Linked DNA regions of Homo sapiens: region 2 is linked to region 1. The links are contacts of gene promoters, found by promoter capture Hi-C in blood cells and fetal thymus (Javierre and others, 2016). All regions are on one chromosome and are shown on one strand. Each heading gives the region's core, a stretch centred on a gene start or on the middle of the fragment in contact. The rest is flanking DNA. Distances are from core to core; before and after follow the strand shown.

Region 1 (5,967 bases), core at 1,074-3,573:
GTCAAGTATCCTGACGGCAAAGGAAAGAACAGAAAAACTATAAAAATTACACACAAAAATACAAAAACTAATGGATCATATAGTCAGTCCTCCACCCTTTGCTGCACAACAATAGTTGATATGCATAATGATGACCCCATTATGGACAAAAATGGTTGTTACAGTCACTACAGTCTAGAAGATAGAGAAATAACTTTTTGTGTTTCAAAGGGTAAACTTCAGTTACCTAGTATATTAATTCCTCTCGGGTAACTCTGAATTGTAACAATTGTTTCCAAAGTGTTAGTGAGAAGAAATATCCCAAGATCTTAAATAGAGTCTTCATTTTGTGGATATTATTTTTCTGTTGCTTTAAACTAAATTCAAGCCAGTATATAAAAACTGTCACTTTTAACTTACATAGTTACCCAAGTACATTTTAAATTTTAAAAATCTCTCATACAGGACTTTGGACAACACACGTGGATTGAGAAATGTAAAGATTGACAAGCATATATAAGGTGTTGCTGAATATTGTCAATATCTAAAAACTTAAAAAAAAGTATTCTAAGACACCTTGTAATAAAACAGGATAAATTATGAACGAAATGGAGGAAAAACTATAATATTTTTAACCTGCTGCACTCGTATCTTAAATAGCTACACATGTGAAAAAGAAACAATTCAGGCAAACACAGAGAAAGCTAGTTGAGCAATTTGCCATAAAAGTGTTTCTATCAAATACCCCACCTGGGTCCACCTTTTCAACATGAAGATATTAGCTTCTTTTAAGATAGGTTTTTATTATTTTATATAATTCTCTTCTTGAAAAAAGAGAGGTTGCATTTAGAGAACACATCCTGGTTTGTTTTGTTTTTAAAAATAAGAGAAAATTGTTCCACCAATTATCTTGAACAGGCTGACTAGGAAACATTTAATATCCTTTATCATTTTAGAGGCTTTTAAATGTGAGCCTTTACACTCAGAACACTGTGACAATGTGAAAAAAAAACACTGGCTACATTTTCCAACAACATGTAAAAAGAAATATAAGGAAAAACAAGTATTTACTTGGAATTAACTGTAGTTTTCATATATTCTTCCAGGAGCAAAGCAGTTTCTGCCTAAAACTCTAGAAAAACACTACTTGTTTACTTACAGAACACTCTAAAGATGTAAACTCATAATAAAAGTTTACATAACAACCTAATAGAAACAAACACAACGTGAATAACGGCAAGTAAAATTTAACTGTAGTAGAGACATAGTTGTATTTAAAATGCTCTTCCTTACCTGGATGCTCTTCAGAATAAACTCACTTTTCTCTCTCACATCTTTGAAGGGACACCTCTTAGAAAGCATAAGCAGATGAGCAAGTAGCTTATTCAACCCATCCGAAGACTCGGTATTTGAAAGCCCGTCTGATGGACGATGAGGTGTTTCTTTCACCGAACGAAGATACTCGGTTTTCCTCAAAATGGTTTGCCTAATGTTTTCCAATGCTGTCTCCCTAGTAGTTGAATCTCTGCTGCAGAGTCCATCCCATCTCACTTCATTCTCTCCTTCAGCCATGACAATAGTTTTTCCTTTGCGGTCTTCAGTTACCTTTCAGCATGCCCCAAAAAAATTGCTTTGTATTTTTAAAATGAAAAATGTAAAAATAAAATCAGAGAAATCAAATCGTCATGAAAACACACATCTGGGTGACATTTGGAACCACTGGTGCCTTCAGCCGATCTACAAGCTAGGTCACCCTCTCACCCTCTCCTTGTACACGAAAGGGCAGTCTTCTTTCTGGAAAAACAAAGTTTGAAAGTTGCAACCTTGCAGCGCTGGCTTTGGTGGGCAGAGAATTTCGGGGAAGCGTTCTCCTCCGTCTCGCGGGGTCAGTGGATATCCTCACGTTGTGGAGCTGTCAAATCCGTGCTCTGCCCCAAAAGGCTGTTAACAGCTGAACGCCCTCCAGCCATTCGGGGCTTTTTTGTCTGTGCAGCCACCGGGTTCTCTCCGGCGTTCCCACCCCGCCCCTTCTCCGACACCAGTCCCCGCCCTCCGCAGCTCCTCCCAGCGCCTCAGCAGCCGGCCGGCGCCGGCAGGGAAGGCTCGCCGAACCCTGGCCCACTGGCCGCAGCGGCCGGAGGCTTGGGCGCTGTCGGAGGGCGGCAGTCTCGGGCAGCCGTAGTCTCGGCGGGCGGCGGTGAAAAAAAGCGTCCCCCAGCCCCGCCAATTCGGCACCCCCGGGAAGACGCTACTTCTCCGATCCCTGAGCCCTCGCCCACCACCGCCGAGCCAGAGGGCACAGGGCGGCCCTGGCAATCCTCGAGCGCCAGGCTGGGCCGCGGAGCTGGCGGGGCGGCGGGGCCCGAGGCGCAAAGCCCGCCCTTCGCCCAGCCCCATCGGTGGGGATCAGCCCAGAGGGCGGGAGCAGGGAGTGGAGACGGGGTCCTCACCCCCAGCCCCTCCCCTTTCTCCGCCCGGCACAAACCGGGAGCCGCCCCGGCCCCAGCGCCTTCTTCCCCGCCCAGGCAGACGCGACCCGCCGAGGCAAAGCCTTAGGAAAAAGCCCCGCCCTCTGGCAGGCTACCCTCCGGACCCCAAGTGCGCCGCGCGCGGCTGCCAGCCACTGCCGGCTGCTACGCATGCGTGACTGCGAACTGGGCCAAGCGCCCCCGGAGGCGCTAAGCTTGCGCCCTGAGGCGGTTTCCGTTCCCGGACGTTTGGACTCTGTCCTGGAGAAGGGGAAGGAAAAAGTAAGACGTAGAAGTACACTGAGACTTCGTCACACATAAAACAAGCACGACAAAGAAAGAGGGCGCGAAGGGACTCCTGGAAGAAATTGAGTCTACATTTAAGATCACCCTAAAAGTAGTGACGGCCTCTTCATTACTCCAAACCCCAGATTTAAGTCGGTAGGACGTCTTCGCGTTGACTTGTGGGGAATGTAGTTTCGATGCTGCCGGCGCGTTTTGTTTGCGACAGAAACTACAACCCCCAGGGGCCACCGCGACGTTGCCTGTGGGTGCCCGCGAACCAACGGTTAGCGGTGGCAGGGGCTGACTGAGAGCGTCTGCTTGGTAAGCACTGTAAGCTGGGTTGTCACCTTTCCTTGACAGGGTTTTTCCTTCCTCCATTTCCTCTGGGATTTTGGAGACAAAGCCATCTAGGGTGGCCTCCCTTAGTCCAAGGACTTTTTCCAGTGACTTGCGTGGGAAGGACTAGTCCAGCTGCCCAAGCGCGGGGTGTGGTGGGTGAGGCAAGGATTTGGGATCCTGATCCCAAGGGTCGCAGGGAGCGGCCTAAGTAAGGCCAAGAAGGAAGGATGCTGTGGAAACTGGAGCTTCGCGCTGCTGCCTCTGATTCCGCCCTTTTTTGTGGACACACGCGGGGTGGATTTGGGATCTCCGCGCATTTGCACCTTTGTTTGCCTTTGCTTAGGGATGTTCTGGGCTTTATTTGCTCAGTCAAATGAAATCCTAGGCAGGGCTTTGAAAGCAAGTTGTCAAATCCATCTCGTAAAAGAATCCCCAGTATTCCTAGATAGGAATTCTTGCAGGCTTTAAGGATACAGCAGGAAAAAGAAAGCAAAACCGTAAAAGTCTCCAAAACTTAGTCGACTTTTTCAAAAGATTCAGTCATTTGCTTAAAATTAGTTTGCTTTTAAAAAGTTATTATTTGAGAAAAGTCGAGGTTTGAACGGCCATCAGTGGACTGATAATCGGTGTAGATTTTAATTCTTTACATTGCAGAATTGCATTGCACTAAATTCTAAAAATTTCGTCTTGCTAGGCACTGAGTATACAACAATGAAAAAGACAGTCTTACTAGTTAGAGGAACTAGTTGTTAGACATACGGTTACAATAATACATGATATCACTGGGATGTCTAGAAGGAGATGACTTAGCCCAATCTTGGAAAGTCAGGGAAATCTTCATCCCAGGGGAAATGAAGACCAAAAGAACAGCATATGCTAAGGCCCAGAGTGAGAGATAGGGTACTTTCAGGAAACGTCAGTAAGCCAAATCATGCATACTTGGCGGTGTGGGGTGGGACGGGAAGGGTGCTTTTTGTGTATTGATGCACTTAGAAGCTACAAAGAGACAGGTATTGTGAATTCTTTACATCGTTTCTGTAAGTGAGCTATTTTTGAATAGATGCATAGTTCTGATGAATTGGTCTAATTTCAAAAGCCTTGTTACATTCTGACACTTCTAGTTTGAATCTGAATTTTAAAAAGGGAATAACTTATGAGTGTGATTGAAAAAGCAAAACAAAAACCATTCCGTTTTCATCTCCTTTTTGGGATCTTCATTCTCTATCCAGCCCATAAAGGGTCGGGTAGTTTCTTAAGGCTGGGTGCCTTTTTATGCCGTAGTTAAATATGATCTCATGTATACCCATGGCTTCACCAACACCTATGACTCTCAAATGAATAGCTCCATTCAGCTTCACCTCTCAGCTTTCACAATATCTCTTGGATATTTCTTCTTGGATATCTCAAAAGCATCTCAAACTCAACATACCTAAAACCAAATGCATAGTTATCTCTTATGAATCTAATTCTTTTTCAGTGTTCCTTATTTCAGCAAAGGACACTACTATCCATCTACTTGTGAAAATTTGAAAGCTAAACATTATTCTTTATTTCTTCTTGCCCTTCATACTTCTATGGCCAAATTATTATGAAGTTCTGCCAACCTTATCTCTCAAAATATCCTTCAAATATATTTTTCTCTCCACCTGTCTTCAAACTGCGATAATCTCTCAAGACCACTACAGTAGCAATTATTCACAATGACCCTCCTCCATTAGTTCTCCATTATATCTGCCAGAATGATTTTTTGAAACTGCAGATTTGATCAGATTTTCTCTTGGTTAAAACTATTCAGTGGTGTCCTACTACTGTTAAAGACAAAACTCCTTTATAAAGCCTGACATCATCTGGTACTCTTTCAGACTAACTTCATATATTGCCCTCCAGATCAGCCATACAGTCCATTTTTCAGTCATTGGTTCTCATATTCCATTTCACCCACGCGTTTACTCAACAAATCTCTGTTGAGTCCCTTTTATATAACAGGACATTGAAGATACAGCATTGACCACAATATATAAAAATTCCTACTGTCATAGAGCTTGCATTCTACTGAGGAGAGATAATAAATAAATATGTAAAACACTTAGTAAATGAAATGAAGACAAATGCAGTGGAGAATAAAACAACTGGGAAGGGGAATGGGGAGTGCCAGGATGTGAGGGGCAAGGTTCACTTTTAAATAAGGTTGTTAGAAAAGACATAATCCAGAAGGGGACAATTGAGATATGAAGTAGGGGAGGGAATAAACCATGTAGATGCCTGGGCAAATAACATTCTAATGAAGAGAATTAGTGCAAAGGCCTTGGGCAGAAGCCTGAGTGCGCATTTGAGAAATAGCAAGAAGGCTAGTGTGGCTGGAGCACAATGAGTACAAAGAGGAGAATAACATGAGGTCACAGAGAAAGGAAGTAATGGTAGGAGAACATGTAGGTGACTGAAAGGACTAACATTTTTAATTGGGTTGGGAAAGCATTGGAGAGTTTTGCGCAGATGAGGGCATGATCTGACTTTTAAAAAATGACTACTTTTCTCTCTCTCTCTTTCTCTCTCTCTCTCTCTCCCTCTGTCTCAACGGAGTTTTGCTCTTGTTGCCCAGGCTGGAGTGCAATAGCACAATCTTGGCTCACTGCAACCTCCACCTCCCAAGTTTAAGTGATTCTTCGTCCTCGGCCTCCCAAGTAGCTGGGATTACAGGCATGCACCACCATACCTGGCTAATTTTGTGTTTTTAGTAGAGACAGGGTTTCACCATGTTGGTCAGGCTGGTCTTGAATTCCTAACCTCAAGTGATCCACCCACCTCAGCCTTGCAAAGTGCTGGATTACAGGTGTGAGCCACCGTGCCCGGCCTCTTTCTTTTTTCCTGAGACAGAATCTGACTATGTCACCCAGGC
Region 2 (5,967 bases), core at 1,024-3,523, 2.8 Mb before region 1:
CTGGGGATTCTCTCAAAGATGGTATTACAAGCATGAGCCATCACGCCCGGCCAAGTTATATTCTTTAGTTGCTCAGTCCGTAACCCTTGGAGTCGTCCTTGACCCTTCTTCTACCTGACTGCTCTCAAAAGTCTAGAATCTGGTCATTTCGCACTACCGCCACTATTACTACCCTGATTCAAGTCACCTCGACCTTTAACCTGGATAAATGCAGTCAATGGCCTACTAACAACTCTTATTTCTGCACCTGCTGCATACAGTCAACATAGCAATCAGATCTTTTAAAACACAAGTTAGATCAACTCACTGCTTACTCAAAACCCAACTCATTCAAAGTACAAATTAAGGTTCTTATAAATTCCCACATGCTCCTAAATGACTTGGCCCCATTTCCACCTAAGTATCCACTACTTCTTTCCCTCTTGTTCATTATTTTCCAGTCAAACTAGCTAGTATGCGCCTGCTTCAGGGCTTCAGTGGCAGCTCCTTCCAAGTGGCACCCTTCTTTATCACCCGTAGGCCTCCAAGTTAATATCATCTTTTCTATGGCCACCACTCCCATCTCTTGGCATTCCCTATACCCCTGCACTGCTTTGGTTTTTTTCTCTAGCACTTTCCGCCACTTGACGTACACAGTTGGCCCTTCCTACCCATGGGTTCTTCGTCCTTGTATTCAACCAATCATGGATGAAAAAATATTCGGGGAAGGAAAAAAAAGTCAGTACTGAACATGTATAGACTCTTTTTTGTCATTATTCCCTAAACAATACACCATAACAACTATTTATACAGCATTTAAGTTGTATTGCGCATTATAAATAATGCAGAGTTGAACTAAAGATAGGAGGATGTGCATAGGTTATCTGCAAACACTACACCATTTTATATCAGGGACTTGAGCATTTGAGGACTTTGGTATCCAAGGGAGGTCCTGGAACCAATCTCCCACAGATGCCGAGGGACAGGAAAGACTGTACCTTAATTTTTGTATCAATGTCTTCTCACCCCATCCCCAAAGTGGAACTTCATGATGGCAGGGATTTTTATTCTTTTGTTTACTATTTTGTTTACTGTTTTGTCCAGTGCCTAACACATAGGAGGTACTCAGTTTGGGGGAAATTAATGAAATAAATACACACTTGAGGTGTGTGCACTATTCTAAAAATCCATATCCATACAGTTCCATTCTGTACACTTTCCCCCAATTTTAAGTAGCATATCTTTGAAGATAAAAGCACAGGCTTAAATCTGGTGTAAAATACCTCTCAATTACTACCCTGAGCACAACATCGTTATTTTCAAATTCAAAATTCAACCAGAAACTCCCTCTATGGAAATCACAAATAGTTCAGTTCAGAGCCAAGTATCCAGTTTCAAGGTCTCAGAAATTTAACAAGCCAATTCTGGAAGGCTTTGGAAGTTCAGCTACTGTCTGGTAAGTCTCCGGGTTCTGATTGCTCAAGACAGGCTGTACCTCCTCACCCCTCAGAAAAATCTAGAACCAATAGTTTCCTAGGTTCCTCAAGTTCAGGATAATTTTAAAATAATCCAAAGTACAAATGAAGTATGTAAAAGTGTCTTGCCAACAGAAAATGTCTTTGGTAGCACTAAATATTGTTATTGAGACAGGGAATATCGTAAATAGATAAATTGCTTGGAGGACATACCCACCGAGTTTGGACAGACTCACACTGCACTGTGCAATAAAGGTTTAAATAACTGTGTTCCACAAACAATTCAGGTCCTGAACTGAACTCTAGAGCCTGCGACTAGACTCTCGCTTTCCTACCTTAGTAAGCAACAGACATGTACCCCAAGAGGGACCCCGCAGGCCACACCCGCCAACCGGCCCCAGGGCTCCGGGCCGGCGTCTCGCCAACTCCACCTTGCCCGGAGGAACCACCTTCACCCGCCATCGCGGCCGGGCGGGCGCTCCTCCAGGCAACTACTCACCCCTCCTTCCTACCACACCTACCTGGCCCCTCCCCAGCCCTCCTCCTCTAGGAATTTCCTCACACAAGGTGGACACACACACGTACCCTACTCCAAGCTATGGCTCCTCCTTCCGGCTCCCCGCACTGGTGGGGACGCCCAGATTCCGCGCTCCGGTGGGGCGGCGGGGCAAGCTGCCCGCCTGACACACTGTCCTGCGGGGACGCGGTAGCAGGACTCCAGGAAGCCCGCGCAGCCGCAAAAAGCACCGGCGCGGAGGTCGGAGCTGAACCCTGCTGCACTTCCGCCCTCTGGTATCCAGCGAATACAACCGGCAACGCTGCGGAGCCCTGGCAGCGCACCACAAGTCCAGTCACCCTCGGCGCCCGGAGATGACGTCACGAGACCCCACGTGGTCCGAACTCCGCCCTCCGTGTTCTGCCTAACCCAGCAAGGAGGCCCGAGTCGCTCTTGAGCATGCGCCAACGGGGCAGTACGCTTGAACTCGCGACCAAACCTCTCCAAGTTCATAGCTTCTACCCTCTTCTGAGAATCTTGCGTCAAAGCGTAGTTATTGGGGCTTGGGGAGGTTAACTTAACAGTTCCACAAAAACAGTTTTTAAAATACTGAAACACTGCCTCCCTAGAGCTTGATCGCAACATCCCTTTCTTCCTGGCATCACACAACAGTATTAATAAAACATTAGTTTTCAAAGTACTTTCCCATCCATTTTCTTATTTGATCTTCTTCTCTACTTTGTTGGAACCACCGCAGGCATTAATAACCTAATTTAACAGAAGACTATATGAGCACTGAACCCTCCCACCCATCCAAGAGTACATATCTTTATCTTACTCTTTGTAAAAATAATTGGGGCCGGGCGCGGTGGCTCACGCCTGTAATCCCAGCACCTTGGGAGGCCGAGGCGGGCGGATCACGAGGTCAGGAGATCGAGACCATCATGGCTAACACGGTGAAACCCCGTCTCTACTAAAAATACAAAAAAAATTAGCCGGGCGCGGTGGCGGGCTTCTGTAGTCCCAGCTACTGGAGAGTCTGAGGCAGGAGAATGGCGTGAACCCGGGAGGTGGAGCTTGCAGTGAGCCAAGATAGGGCCACCGCAGTCCCGCCTGGGCGAAAGAGCGAGACTCCGTCTCAAAAAAAAAATAGTAATAATTGGTAAACTTACTAATAAAGAATCTTTGAATTGGCTCTATCCAGAAGTCTTAGCAGGCATTTAAGGTTTTTCTCTTAATTACACGTGCCTTAACGCCATGCATGTTAAGTAAGTACTGTGCTGAGACTCAAAACAGGTTCTTGATAATTGGGAACATAAGGAAAATTCTAGTAGTAGCCACAGGATTCTTTTAAAAAGAAAAATCTTCTTGGAGTTGGACTAAGTACAATGATTTTCAAATGGTAAATTACAGTACATTAGTGGGTATCTAAATCAAGTTAGGGAAGCATGCCCAGCATCTTTTTAAATGAAATAAAATAGAAAATATCAGCATGCTTCACACATGTAAAGGGTAAATATTGTGTCCCAAAATTTTTACTTCAGTATGTATGTGGTGTACACTGGATAGGAATGTGAAATACATTTCTTAGTAAGGGTAGCAGTCAGAAAAGTTTGAAAGCCACAGTTATGGTCCTCTTCACCTACTCAATGCAGAAATCCTCACTACAGTGTCCCCAGTAAACAGCTATTAGCCTCTGTAAGAAAGCTTGTGGGATTAAGGTGCATTGCCTTCCCAGTGTCAGACAAAAGTATATAAAATTTCCTTTAAAATGTATCTAAAAAATAAGATGGATTTAGGGGCGCATAGATGGATAAATATGTGATTAACCAAATATAGTAAAATATAATGGTAGAATATAATGGTAAAATATAATGGTAGAATCTAGATGGTAGAATCTAGGTTCATTGTAAATGGGTATTCACTGTAAAATTTGTTCAGCTTTGCTGTGTGTTCAAAATTATTTCCTAACAAAATGTTGGGACCAGGCACAGTGGCTCATGCCTGTAATCCCAGCACTTTGGGAGGCCCAGGTAAGAGGATAGCTTGAGCCCAGGAGTTCAAGACCAGCCTGCACAACATGGCAAGACCACATCTCTACAAAAAACACAAAAATTAGGAGGGCATGGTGGCATGCGCCTACAGTCCCAGCTACTCCAGTGGTTGAGGAAGGAGGATTACATGAGCCCAGGAGGTCAAGGTTGCAGTGAGCTATGATTGTATCACTGCAGTCTAGGTAACAGAGAGAGACCCTGTCTCAAAAAAAAAAAAAAATTGTTTTGGGGGAAACTATGTATGAAGAAACCCAATAGGTGAAAGGTGATTACTTGATTTGACTTAAAATTCAACTTCCTGTAATTTTTATAAATTGACCATTTTCTTTCTTTCTCCCCTTGTCCTTCTCTCTTCCTCACCCATCTACAACATACAACAGAAATAACTAACTCTTCTTCTAAAAGACAGCATTTCAATATGAAAAGGTAGCTCTTGTGCCCCGTAATGCACTCAGGGATAAACATTGTCATTTCTTTCAGCCATTCTTCACATGCCATATCTCTCCTCTGGATATGGTCCAGTTATCAGCATTCCTATTAAATAGTTGTTACACTTGTTTCTATATGATGATCATGCTCCTTGAGCAAAAATTTGGAAATAAAGGGAATTGTATGTTTCGTCTCTGTCATTTCCATTTGTGAACATTATGCCTTTTCTCCAAATCAGTGGCACTGCAAATTTTTAATTTTTTTTCTATGAAGATAACTTTTAAAGAGCTCTTTTTGTTGGCCTTACCATTTCCTCCAAGTTTTAGCTTATTGGGGGTGACTCTCTGTTGGGAACAAGACCCCCAAAATCTGGCCATAAACTGGCCCCAAAACTGGCCATCAACTAAATCTCTGCAGCACTGTGACGTGTTCACGATGGCCATAAAGCCCACGCTGGAAGGTTGTGGGCTTACCGGAATGAGGGCAAGGAACACCTGGCCCGCCCAGGGCGGAAAACTGCTTAAAGGCATTCTTAAGCCACAAACAATAGCATGAGAGATTTGTGCCTTAAGGACATGCTCCTGATGCAGTTAACTAGCCCAACCTATTCCTTTAATTCGGCCCATCCCTTCATTTCCCGTAAGGGATACTTTTAGTTAATTTAATAGCTATAGAAACAATGCTAATGACTGGCTTGCTGTTAATAAATACGTGGGTAAATCTCTGTTCGGGGCTCTCAGCTCATTTCTGTGTGTGTGTCTTTAATTCCTCTAGCGCCGCTGGGTTAGGGTCTGCCCGACCGAGCTGGTCTCGGCACTCTCAGGCAGCCTTTGACTCGTGCGAACTTGTTTATAAAGTCCTCTTTTCAACAAAAGTCAAGTACACAACTCCTCCCAAATTCTGGTTTCTAAGGAGAGACTCCAAAGAAGTCTTTGTTAATAAATTGCTCTCTTTTCTTTTCACTATAATAGTTTGTAGTTGTAAAGTCTGGCTTTTATTTTTGCACACCTCACAAAGTGCAAGACTCAAAACTGTGGGATCGTAACTTTATTCTAAACTTATTTAAATCTACTTTCCTAAAATGTAAGTTATCTTGACTGCCTCCATGAACCCTAACCATCACTTGTTATCATGCTATTACTTCCTGACCCAAGGTCCCATTCTGCTCTCTTTTATCTCTGTCCTGTTGGTTTCAGAGGAATGATTTAAGCCTAATTTAATTCTTCTATTAATACTTCAGCTCTAACACTTCTGACTGCTCCAACTAATTATCCCATCTCCCAGATTTCCCTTACTACTAGTTTCTTCCTTCATCCTATACATATGCTCAAATGTTCTCCCATCCTATTAAAATGCTTCCTTTAACCTTCATCACTTCTGAACTATTAGGATAGCTTCCCCCCATCTCCCTGCCTCCAGTCCTGCTCTACCTGTCCCAGCATCCAACCAGTGTATGTTATCTAAAATGCATTCTAACAATGTCACTCTTCTGTTTAACACCTTTTATTGATTCCTTCTAGGCAAATTCCAAATT

What was found. Contacts are between HindIII fragments. The CHiCAGO score rates a contact against its expected background, and 5 or more counts as called.
Region 2: a contact is called between the fragment with the promoter of ATG5 here and the fragment with the promoter of SESN1 in region 1, in 1 of 17 cell types (total CD4 T cells). The highest score is 6.7, in total CD4 T cells.

Annotation. Positions count from the first base shown.
Region 1 is chr6:109,092,523-109,098,489 of GRCh38, forward strand. SESN1 (sestrin 1) reads right to left here and starts at 2,324. Exons shown (of 10, transcript NM_014454.3): 1 at 1,273-2,324. The coding sequence starts at 1,551. CEP57L1 (centrosomal protein 57 like 1) reads left to right here and starts at 2,985. Exons shown (of 11, transcript NM_001271852.3): 1 at 2,985-3,053. RefSeq lists enhancers at 1,692-1,841, 2,712-2,971 and a silencer at 1,952-2,651. The HindIII fragment of the contact is 3,523 bases long and covers 1-2,660 here.
Region 2 is chr6:106,323,487-106,329,453 of GRCh38, forward strand. It overlaps ATG5 (autophagy related 5), which reads right to left and starts at 2,274. Exons shown (of 8, transcript NM_004849.4): 1 at 2,040-2,274. RefSeq lists enhancers at 1-436, 2,084-2,133, 2,154-2,473. The HindIII fragment of the contact is 6,577 bases long and covers 1-3,655 here.